Regions from separate parts of the Homo sapiens genome. Here region 1 is linked to region 2. The links are contacts of gene promoters, found by promoter capture Hi-C in blood cells and fetal thymus (Javierre and others, 2016). All regions are on one chromosome and are shown on one strand. Each heading gives the region's core, a stretch centred on a gene start or on the middle of the fragment in contact. The rest is flanking DNA. Distances are from core to core; before and after follow the strand shown. Region 1 overlaps DGKG (diacylglycerol kinase gamma). Region 2 holds the start of TBCCD1 (TBCC domain containing 1).

Region 1 (4,637 bases), core at 386-2,885, 230 kb before region 2:
AAATGAGAGAAAGTATGAATTTAGAGATGAAAAATCTTCGAGGAAGAGGATGGGAGGGAAAGAAGATGCTTTTCAGTACCAGCTGTAGAAGACAAAACATTGTAAATTTTCACCTTCATCTCTAGAAGCTGTTAATGAATAAGTAAATTTAAAAAACTATAAACTTTATGGAAACATCTGCTTGCAGGGGTTAGGAGTGGCTGGATGTGTGGGCCAGACTAATAACACTGGAGGGGTTGGGAGAAGAGCACAGAGTTAGTCATTTGGCTGAATGTGTTTAATAAATTACAACCCAATTGGAGGGACTGGCTCCCTGGGTGAGTCACTTTGAACTAGGCAAAAATAGCCAACAGAAACCAGCCCCAACTAAAGAAAAATAAATCATTTTATTTGATTGACTGACATTGTTTTGATCAGAGTGTGAAATCACATGCTGAGTTTAGTTTGGTCAGAAAGCCACCCTGTTGCTGATGGAATCACATGCACATATTCATTCCTCTAACCACTTGCTAGATGTAACTTTTAAATATATAAATACTCTACTCTCAAACTTACCTTCCTCCCACGTCTATCTCCAAAACTAAACAACTAACTTTTTCAATGAAGAAGTCATTCTCCACATTTCCTGGGCTTGATACATTGGCTTTATTTACCTTTAGTCTCCTTCCCCTCTCTGAAATCTCAATACCAAATCAGACATCAATTCGCCAAGTTTTGTCTTTTATCTTTCAGCTCTGCCCCTTTCTCTCCATTAAATTCCTTGTAACAGCACCTCCAGTTTCTGGGTAGGGGCTTCTTAATGGCCCTAGCAGGTCTCTGGTCTCATAACTATCTTCTCACTCATTTTAGTCTGTTCTGCACATGAGACTACCGAAAACCACAAGCTTCAATTATTTTCCAGGTCAAGAACTAAACTATCAGTTTGTGTTCAGTGCCTTTTCCAAGTATTCAAGGTACTTTATCTCCTAGGCTAACTGGATCTCCCACTAGTTTGAGGGGCGAGACTGTGAAGGACTTGGGAATAGGGATAATGTTGTCATTGTTCTTTCTGCTGATCATTGGGATTCTGGGATAACAAAGAAGCAGATATCACTAAGTGGCTGTAGATTTCTGGACCATGATTTATCATATGCTGGAAGGGTAAGTTCATGTCTGGTCATGAAGGACTTGCATCTACTAAGCATGGGGGACATGTATTTAGTACAGGGTGATGAGTAAGAGGATCAAAGAGCTGGGATAGAGCCAGATGCAGTGGTACACAACTGTAGTCCTAGCTACTTGGGAGGCTGAGGAAGGAAGATGGCTTGAGCCAAGAAGTTCAAGACCAACCTGGGCAATATAGTGAAACCACCAACTCAGAAATAAAATAAAATATAAAAGAGTTGGGATGATACCATGATACCATGAATCTATCCAGGAACTGCTGGTAAAACAAAGACAAGAGAGGGAAGGTACCTGGTGACACGTACACATATGTATACATAATTATAAAGAATACTAGAGAAGTGTCTGTTCATGTCCTTCGCCCACTTTTTGATGGGGTTGTTTGTTTTTTTCTTGTAAATTTGTTTGATATAAAGACACATGCACACGTATGTTTACTGCAGCATTATTCACAATAGCAAAGACTTGGAACCAACCCAAATGTCCAACAATGATAGACTGGATTAAGAAAATGTGGCACATATACACCATGGAATACTATGCAGCCATAAAAAATGATGAGTTCATGTCCTTTGTAGGGACATGGATGAAATTGGAAAACATCATTCTCAGTAAACTATCGCAAGAACAAAAAACCAAACACCCCATATTCTCACTCATAGGTGGGAATTGAACAATGAGGACACATGGACACAGGAAGGGTAATATCACACTCTGGGGACTGTTGTGGGGTGGGAGGAGTGAGGAGGGATAGCACTGGGAGATATACCTAATGCTAGATGACGAGTTAGTGGGTGCAGTGCACCAGCATGGCACATGTATACGTATGTAACTAACCTGCACAATGTGCACATGTACCCTAAAACTTAAAGTATAATAAAAAAAAATACTAGAAACTACATTAATGGGCTGAATAGTCTAGACAGCAAGAGATTGATTTGTTACGGAAATTCACGACCCTAAGGATAGAGCACCTAGAGATATCATGAGTGAGCAGAATATGGTAAAGAACACATGTGAGTTCATTATGAGCATTTTCTACAGGCCGCTTGGCCACAGGAAGAAATGGAGGGTGGATTCTTAGCCACTGTTATTCTGTCATAAGGGAAGTTACAGCAGTGAAAGTGGTCTTGTGCTGACTGAACACTTGCAAAACGCCCTTTTCAGCTAAAAATAGCGCATCAGACAAGTCTCTTCATTTCCCTTGTTGACATGGAATAAAGAAGCTTAACTAGATACACTCCTCTGTCTCTCATTCTTTATTTTTTTATTTGATTTTTTGTTTTGTTTTATTTCTGTTTTTTTTCTCTCGGTCCCTCATTCTGACCAACAGAAAGACCCTGCTTGGTGAAGCAAGCAGAAGAGACATATTAGGAGAAACAAGCCACTCCAGCTCAGAAGACATGATTGTCAATGAGGAGAAGGCTGGCTGTAATAAGTAGCCAAGAAGTCTAGATTTAGGCAGTCTAAAAAGTTAAAAAGAAGATAGTTATGATTAGATGAGATTCTGGAATAGAGGCAGCCTGAAGTTTTCCAAAATGGGGAAGCGTTCAAAAATCATTCCAATAAAAAGGGAAAAGAAATGGTCCTTTTAAAAAATGTGCCTGCAGGCTCACCCACAGATTCCCATCTGAAAAAGACACTTAGAAAAAAAGGAAAAGAAAGGCACACAACCAAGGAACATATAGGAAGATGGCACAAACTTAAACGGAAAAATTATAATGTGAAAAAAATAGCTGAAAGTGATCTGAAATACTAAATGACAATAACAACAAAAAACCCCACTATGGGCCAAAAAAAGTTGGAGGAATTCTGGGAACTGGGCCAGTTCATTTTAGACCCATAAGAGCAAAGAACAGCTTAGTCTATCGCTTGTGAACGAGGATTACCAGAACCTCCATGGAGGCTACTGAACCACTTTCGTTGATCTTTGAAGAATTTTGGAGAAAAACAACAACAAGAAGCCAGAGGACCAGAAACAAGCAAATCTAATCTTCTTTCTTTCTTTTCTTTTTTTTTGGAGACAAAGTCTCACTCTGTCATCCAGGCTGGAGTGCAGTAGCGCAGTCTTGGCTCACTGCAACTTCTGCCTCACGGGGTGAAGTGATCCTCCCACCTCAGCCTCCTGAGTAGCCAGGACCACAGATGCGCACCACCATGCCTTGCTAATTTTTTTGTATTTTTGGTAGAGACGGGATTTCACCATGTTGCCCAGGCTGGTCTCAATTTCCTGACCTCAAGCAATCTGCCTGCCTCCCAAAGTGCTGGGATTATGTGTGAGCCACTGCACCTGGACTATCTTATTTTTATTATCAAAAAAGTGGAAGAAAATATATTCCACAAACTATCAACAGCGTGAGCATGATACTAGTCTTAGCTAAGAATCCAAATCATATTTTTAAATGATTTTAAAATAAAAATCACATATCATCTCATTATCCAACTATAATGACAATTAACATTTTGCTGTAAATTCTTTCTAGAATGTATCCATATATATGTAGGCATCTCTTTAAAAAAAAATTTCAAATTTGTTTTAGCTCTTTTTGTCTTTTTTTCACTTAGCAGTATATGGTGAGCATTATTTGGTGTTACTAAACATTCCTCAATACCAGCAAAACAATACTGTTTTCCCTGGTTACCTAGTATTTTATTGTGTAAATAGACATAATTTATTGACAGTTCCCTCTGCTGTTGTTTATCTTTAAAATCCATCTCTTGCAACTCAAAACCACAATGAGATGCCATCTCACACCAGTCAGAATGGTTATTATTAAAAAGTTCAAAAAAACCAAAACAGATGCTAGTAAGGTTGTGGAGAAAAGGGAATACTTAAACACTGTTGTTGGGAGTGTAAATTAGTTCAACCATTGTGGAAAGCAGTATGCAGATTCTTCAAAGAGCTAAAAGCAGAACTACCATTGGACCCAGCAATCCCATTACTGGGTATGTACCCAGAGGAATAGAATTCATTTGACCATAAAGACACATGTGTGCAAATGTTCACTGCAGCACTATTCACAATAGCAAAGACATGGAATGAGCATAAATGCTCATCAGTGACAGATTGGATAAAGAAAATGTGGTACATATACACCATGGAATATATACAGTGATAAAAAGAACGCGATATGTCTTTTGCAGGAACATGGATGCAGGAACATGGATGGATACTTAGCAAAGTAACGCAGGAACAGAAAACCAAATGCTACATGTTCTCACTTACAAGTGGGAGCTAAATGATAAGAACTTAAAGAACTTATGAACACAAAGAAGGAAACAACAGACACGGATTCTACTTGAGTGGGGAGGGTGGGAGGAAGGAGATGAGCAGGAAAGATAACTATTGGGTACTGGGCTTAATACCTGGGTGATGAAATAATCTGTACAACAACCCCCCATGACACAAGTTTACCTACCTAACAAACCTGCACATATATCCCTGAACCTAAAATAAAAGTTAAAAAATAAAT
Region 2 (4,919 bases), core at 2,030-4,529:
GCGCTCCTCAGGTGTCTTCATTGAAAGACTATCAAATATTTCGAAGTAAAGCCACGCCAGGTCCTTGGCCAACTGCAGCTTCCCACAAGCGATGTGCCTCCATGTAGACCAGTAGAGGCGCGGGTAAGCTCCTTCTGTGGCCCGGATTTGCACATAGGTGGATATCTTCCTGAGATAGTGAAGACTAAACTTGGATGGAGGGGGGACCTGCAAGGCACCCACTATAAAGGGTTCTGCTTTCACCCAGAGGAGAACTCTGGACTGATCCATATTATCTCTAAGGACATCAGGGTGAAAAGGCTTCTTTGCATACCTAGGAAACAAAGTTTCTTCATAAACTGATTTGAAACAAGTCTCATTTATGCATTTTTTCTTGGAAGGTGACCCCTCTCTCTCAACTGTGTCATATGTACTACATCATCATCTTAAAAGGCAGCTCTAGTTCACCAACCAAGAGCAGAACAGTTTTTTTAATCAGATCTCATTATAATCTGAGAAAAAAATTGTGATAAAACAAAATTATCTTACTTGAATTGTTAGAAATCCTTGTTTTAGGAAGTGTGTGTAGATGCATGAAGTCTGAGTGAGATCCCAGGAAGAAAATGAATGAGGGGAAAAAAGTCATCCTATCACAGGAAACCTTTTTCTACTCTGAGGGGGAACACTGTTCAAAATAAGGGAAATACATTTCACAGAGTTAAATCACTTACACAGAAGACAGTTGGTTAAAGATCTGGACATGTTAGCTGAGCATATAAATTCAATATGAAGTGCTAATGTGAGGCAGCAGGCAAGAATGCTAATGTAAATGTAGACTGCAAGAATAGATCAGGAGAAGTTACAGCATCTTTATTCTCTATAACAGTGAACCCACTCTAGCATATTTGATCCTGCTCAGTTCAGGTGTGATTTTTTAGATTTTTTTTTGTTGTAACAATGATACATGATTTTTATGGAATATTTATAAAATACAAAAACAGGGAACCATCCACAATCCCACAAGTAAAGGGCAACAAATTAATATTTTATTGTATTTCCTTCTTCTTCTTCTTTTTTTTTTTTTTTTTTTGAGATGGAGTTTCCCTCTGTTGCCCAGGCTAGAGTGCAGTGGCATGATCTCAGCTCACTGCAACCTCCACCTCCCAGGTTCAAGCGATTCTCATGCCTCAGCCTCCCCAGTAGCTGGGACTACAGGCGTCCACCACCACACCTGGCTAATTTTTGTATTTTTAGTAGAGATGGGGTTTAACTATGTTGGCCAGGCTGATCTCAAATTCCTGACCTCAAGTGATCCCTCGCCTCAGCTTCCCAAAGTGCTAGGATTACAGGCTTGAGCCACTATGCCTGGCCTCTTTGTCTTTTTTCTACACATAAATTAGATGTTAGTTTTTGAATTTTCACAGTTGTGATGTTACATACACAATTCTGTACTGTTTCAAAAGCTTTATAGTATTCTAAATAAATGTATCCCATTTTATTCAACTCTTCTCCCATTTTTAGACACCTTACTAGGTTTCAGATTTTTCACAAAAACAACATAGGCAAAATACTGATCATTATTGAAGTGGGGTAATGGGTACGTGGGGGGCTCACTGATTCTATTTTTGTGTATGTTAAAAAATTTCATTACAAAAGTTCAAATGTTGTCACAAGTGTAAATAATGCTATCACTACCATCTTTCTTCATATTTTCTGCATTACGAATTATTTCTGTGTGAAAATTTTCAGATGTACTTTTGTGAAATTAAGTAATTGACATTTCTAAAGCTTGTGAAATATATCCTTGTTGCTTCCAAATGATTTTATCAAATTGTACCATCCTTTGACTCTGGTACCTACTTCACTGTGCACTCCTCAACATTAGCAACATCATTTTTTTAAAAATATAAAAACTAATTTAAAAAATCAATTATATGACTGATGAAAATTTTATTGCTATTATTATATTTTGCATTTGATTCTAAGAAAACTGTGCTTCTCTCTTTTTTTTTTTTTTGAGACGGAGTCTCGCTCTGTTGCCCAGGCTGGAGTGCAATAGCTCGATCTCGGCTCATTGCAACCTCCACCTCCCAGGTTCAAACGATTCTCCTGCCTCAGCCTCTCAAGTAGCTGGGATTACAGGCTCCCGCCACCACGCCAGGCTAATTTTTGTATTTTTTTAGTACAGACAGGGTTTCACCATGTTGGCCAGGCTGGTCTTGAACTCCCTGACCTCAGGTGATCCGCCTGCCTTGGCCTTCCAAAGTGCTGGGATTACAGGCGTGACCCACCGCACCCGGCCTGCCAACTGTGCCTCTCTCGAGAATCATCTGTTCGGAAAAATAACTGACATCAATCGAGTGCTTACTATGTACCAGGTATCATGCTCATGATTTTGCATACTTCACCTCCTTTCATCCTCACAACCACCTGGAGATACAGTACTTAAGACTGTACACATTTTCGATGAAAAAAAAATGAGGCTTAGCGAAGTTAAGGGATTTCCCTAAGGACACCTACTTAGCTGGCACAGCTCTAGATTAGGATTCAGGTCTGACTTGAGAACTGCATTACTATAAATGTACTCTAGGAATCCAGTTTTGGGAGAATCTCTTAAAAACGGGAGTGGATCCAGAAGAGAATTTCCAGAATAAAGAGTCTTAGACAGGAAGCCAGGTGAAAGAACCAGGGAGAGTAAACTCAAAAGAAGGGCGTGGAAGGGCAAAAGGCAGCTGTCTTCCAATGTGGAGAGACTGGAGTCGTTTTGAGTAAAACCAGACGATAAAAGTTAGGCGAGGAAGACCTCGGTTCTCTCCAAAATGTAAAGAGGCTGCTCTGTGAGGTACTGAGCCCCTGTCAACAGCCAGATCCCAGAGATGAGCCCTCCATTCTAACTCCGAGAATCGAGAGGGCTCAATCCGTAAACAAACATAAACTGGGGCTCTGACCCTGGCGGTGCCCTGAGGTTAAGGTTTTTCAGGTCGGGAGATCGGCGTGGGTCCAAGGCGGCTGTCCTGGGGCTTCGCCGCCACCTTGGACGCGATCCGGGGTGGGACTCTGCGTGGGCCGCCCCAGCGTCGCGACCGGACTTCAGGAACACAGACGCTCACGCTGACAGGGTCGGTAGCTGACCCGAGACGCGGTAAGCGCGAAGGCAGCCTCCTCGACCCAAGCCTGAAGCCTGACTAACCCACACCGCCCTCCCCGGCGCACCCAGTGCGCGGTTACCTGCTAATGCAGGCGCCGCTCCGCCGCACTTCTCCGCGCGCCGCCGCGCCCGGCGTCCGCTCGCTGGGCCCGCCCCTCACCCTCCTCCGCGCGCCGCTGCCGTGCCCACTGCGCAAGCGCGAGGCCCCGCACCACCGAGACCTGGCGGACCCCGTTGCTAGAGCGGCAGATTGCGGCTCAAGCGTCTGAGAAAATCTAGGCTGGGGTCGAGAGTCCGCAACAGTGGCACCTGGAGCCAGACCCACCGCTTTCTGGTGTCGCGCCTTTCAACCCGGGGGGGTAGGAAGCTTTCTGTTGCTCCGCATAACTGTGGTCAGCTAATAGCTGCTGGTAAGATCAGCACGCTTTCATCAGAAATGCTACTAATACTAATGGCAGTTTGCATTTATAGAGCACTTACTATGGTCTCAGCACTGTGTAAAGCAACTTTATGTGTATTTCCTAAGTCTTGTCAAGAGCCCTTTAAGTACATTCGTTTTACTGATGAAGAAACTAGGGCCTAGAAAGGTGAAAATAACACAACCCTAAGGTCACACAAGAGATGGAGCCAAGATTCAAGCCCAGGGCGTCTGAAGCAAGACTGGCACTCCCTGCCGCCCCTCGGTGTCAGCTCCTTAACTCTGTTAGCTTTCCTGCCGTGTTTCCACCTTCATGAAGCTTTTTCAGATTACCGGGCAGAAGCCATCACTCCTTCCTTTAAACTTCCATTTCAGAATTTCTGGACATTTCCTGCTTTTTTTAGTTCCTTTATGGCCTCTCTAGGTGTGATAGATACAAAGGTAAATTAGACCGTAAAATGCAATTTAGTTCCTCTTTTGTGTGGCCATTGTCCCTACTGGGTATCTTCCTGAAAGCAGGGGCTTCAAATTTACACATACCTGGGTTAGGATCCAGGCTGCACCACTTATTAGCTCAGTGACCCTGCTGTTACTTGTTGAGTACCACTGTGTGTCTGGCACAGTGGTACGCACTAGAATGACAGAAGTGAACAAAACAGACAAGGTCCTTGCTTTCTTGGAGTGTATAACAGGGAGAATAGACAATACATATTAAGGAATAAAATAAGATAATTTCAAATAGTGAAAAATGCTATGAAAATTGGGGCGGGGGGTCAGGGAAGGCCACTTTGTGGTGCCAAATTTGAGCTGAGGCCTGAAGAGTAAGAAGCCAGCCATACAATGATCACCATCCCAGTAACTTTGACTCAAAAGTACTTCAGCACCTACTCCATGCCAGGCACTGTTCTAAGGTGCTCTTTTATACAGCTGTGAACAGAACAATATAGATTCATGCTCTCATGAAACTGGCATTTCAGTGTGTAAGTCTAGGGACCAGGGATGAAAAAAATAGGAGGCCGGGCGTGGTGGCTCATGCCTATAATCCCAGCAGTTTGGGAGGCTGAGGCGGGTGGATCACTTGAGGTCAGGAGTTCGAGACCAGCCTGGCCAACATGGTTAAACCCAGTCTCTACTAAAAATACAAAAAAATTAGACGGACATGGTGGTGTGCGCCTGTAGTCCCAGCTACTCGGGAGGCTGAGGCAGGAGAATCGCTTGAACCCAGGAGGCGGAGGTTGCAGTGAGCCAAGATCACGCTACTGCTCTCCAGCCTGGGCGACAGAGCGAGACTCTGTCTCAGGAAAAAAAAAGAAATAAAGAAAAGAAAACAGGGTGGTGTAAGAGTAAGGAACTCAGTAGGGGCTAATTTTGATT

The links. The method cuts DNA at HindIII sites, captures the fragments that hold promoters and counts their contacts. A CHiCAGO score of 5 or more calls a contact.
Region 1: a fragment that was not itself captured here is called in contact with the fragment with the promoter of TBCCD1 in region 2 in 1 of 17 cell types (megakaryocytes); the score reaches 5.1 in megakaryocytes.

What each region holds. Positions count from the first base shown.
Region 1 is chr3:186,340,125-186,344,761 of GRCh38, forward strand. The region is part of intron 1 of DGKG (diacylglycerol kinase gamma); the gene reads right to left. Among named protein-coding and RNA genes, the nearest start is that of DGKG, 20 kb to the right of the region's middle. The HindIII fragment of the contact is 1,506 bases long and covers 883-2,388 here.
Region 2 is chr3:186,564,060-186,568,978 of GRCh38, forward strand. TBCCD1 (TBCC domain containing 1) reads right to left here and starts at 3,280. Exons shown (of 8, transcript NM_018138.5): 1 at 3,208-3,280; 2 at 1-313. The coding sequence starts at 270. RefSeq lists a silencer at 3,184-3,473. The HindIII fragment of the contact is 1,727 bases long and covers 1,766-3,492 here.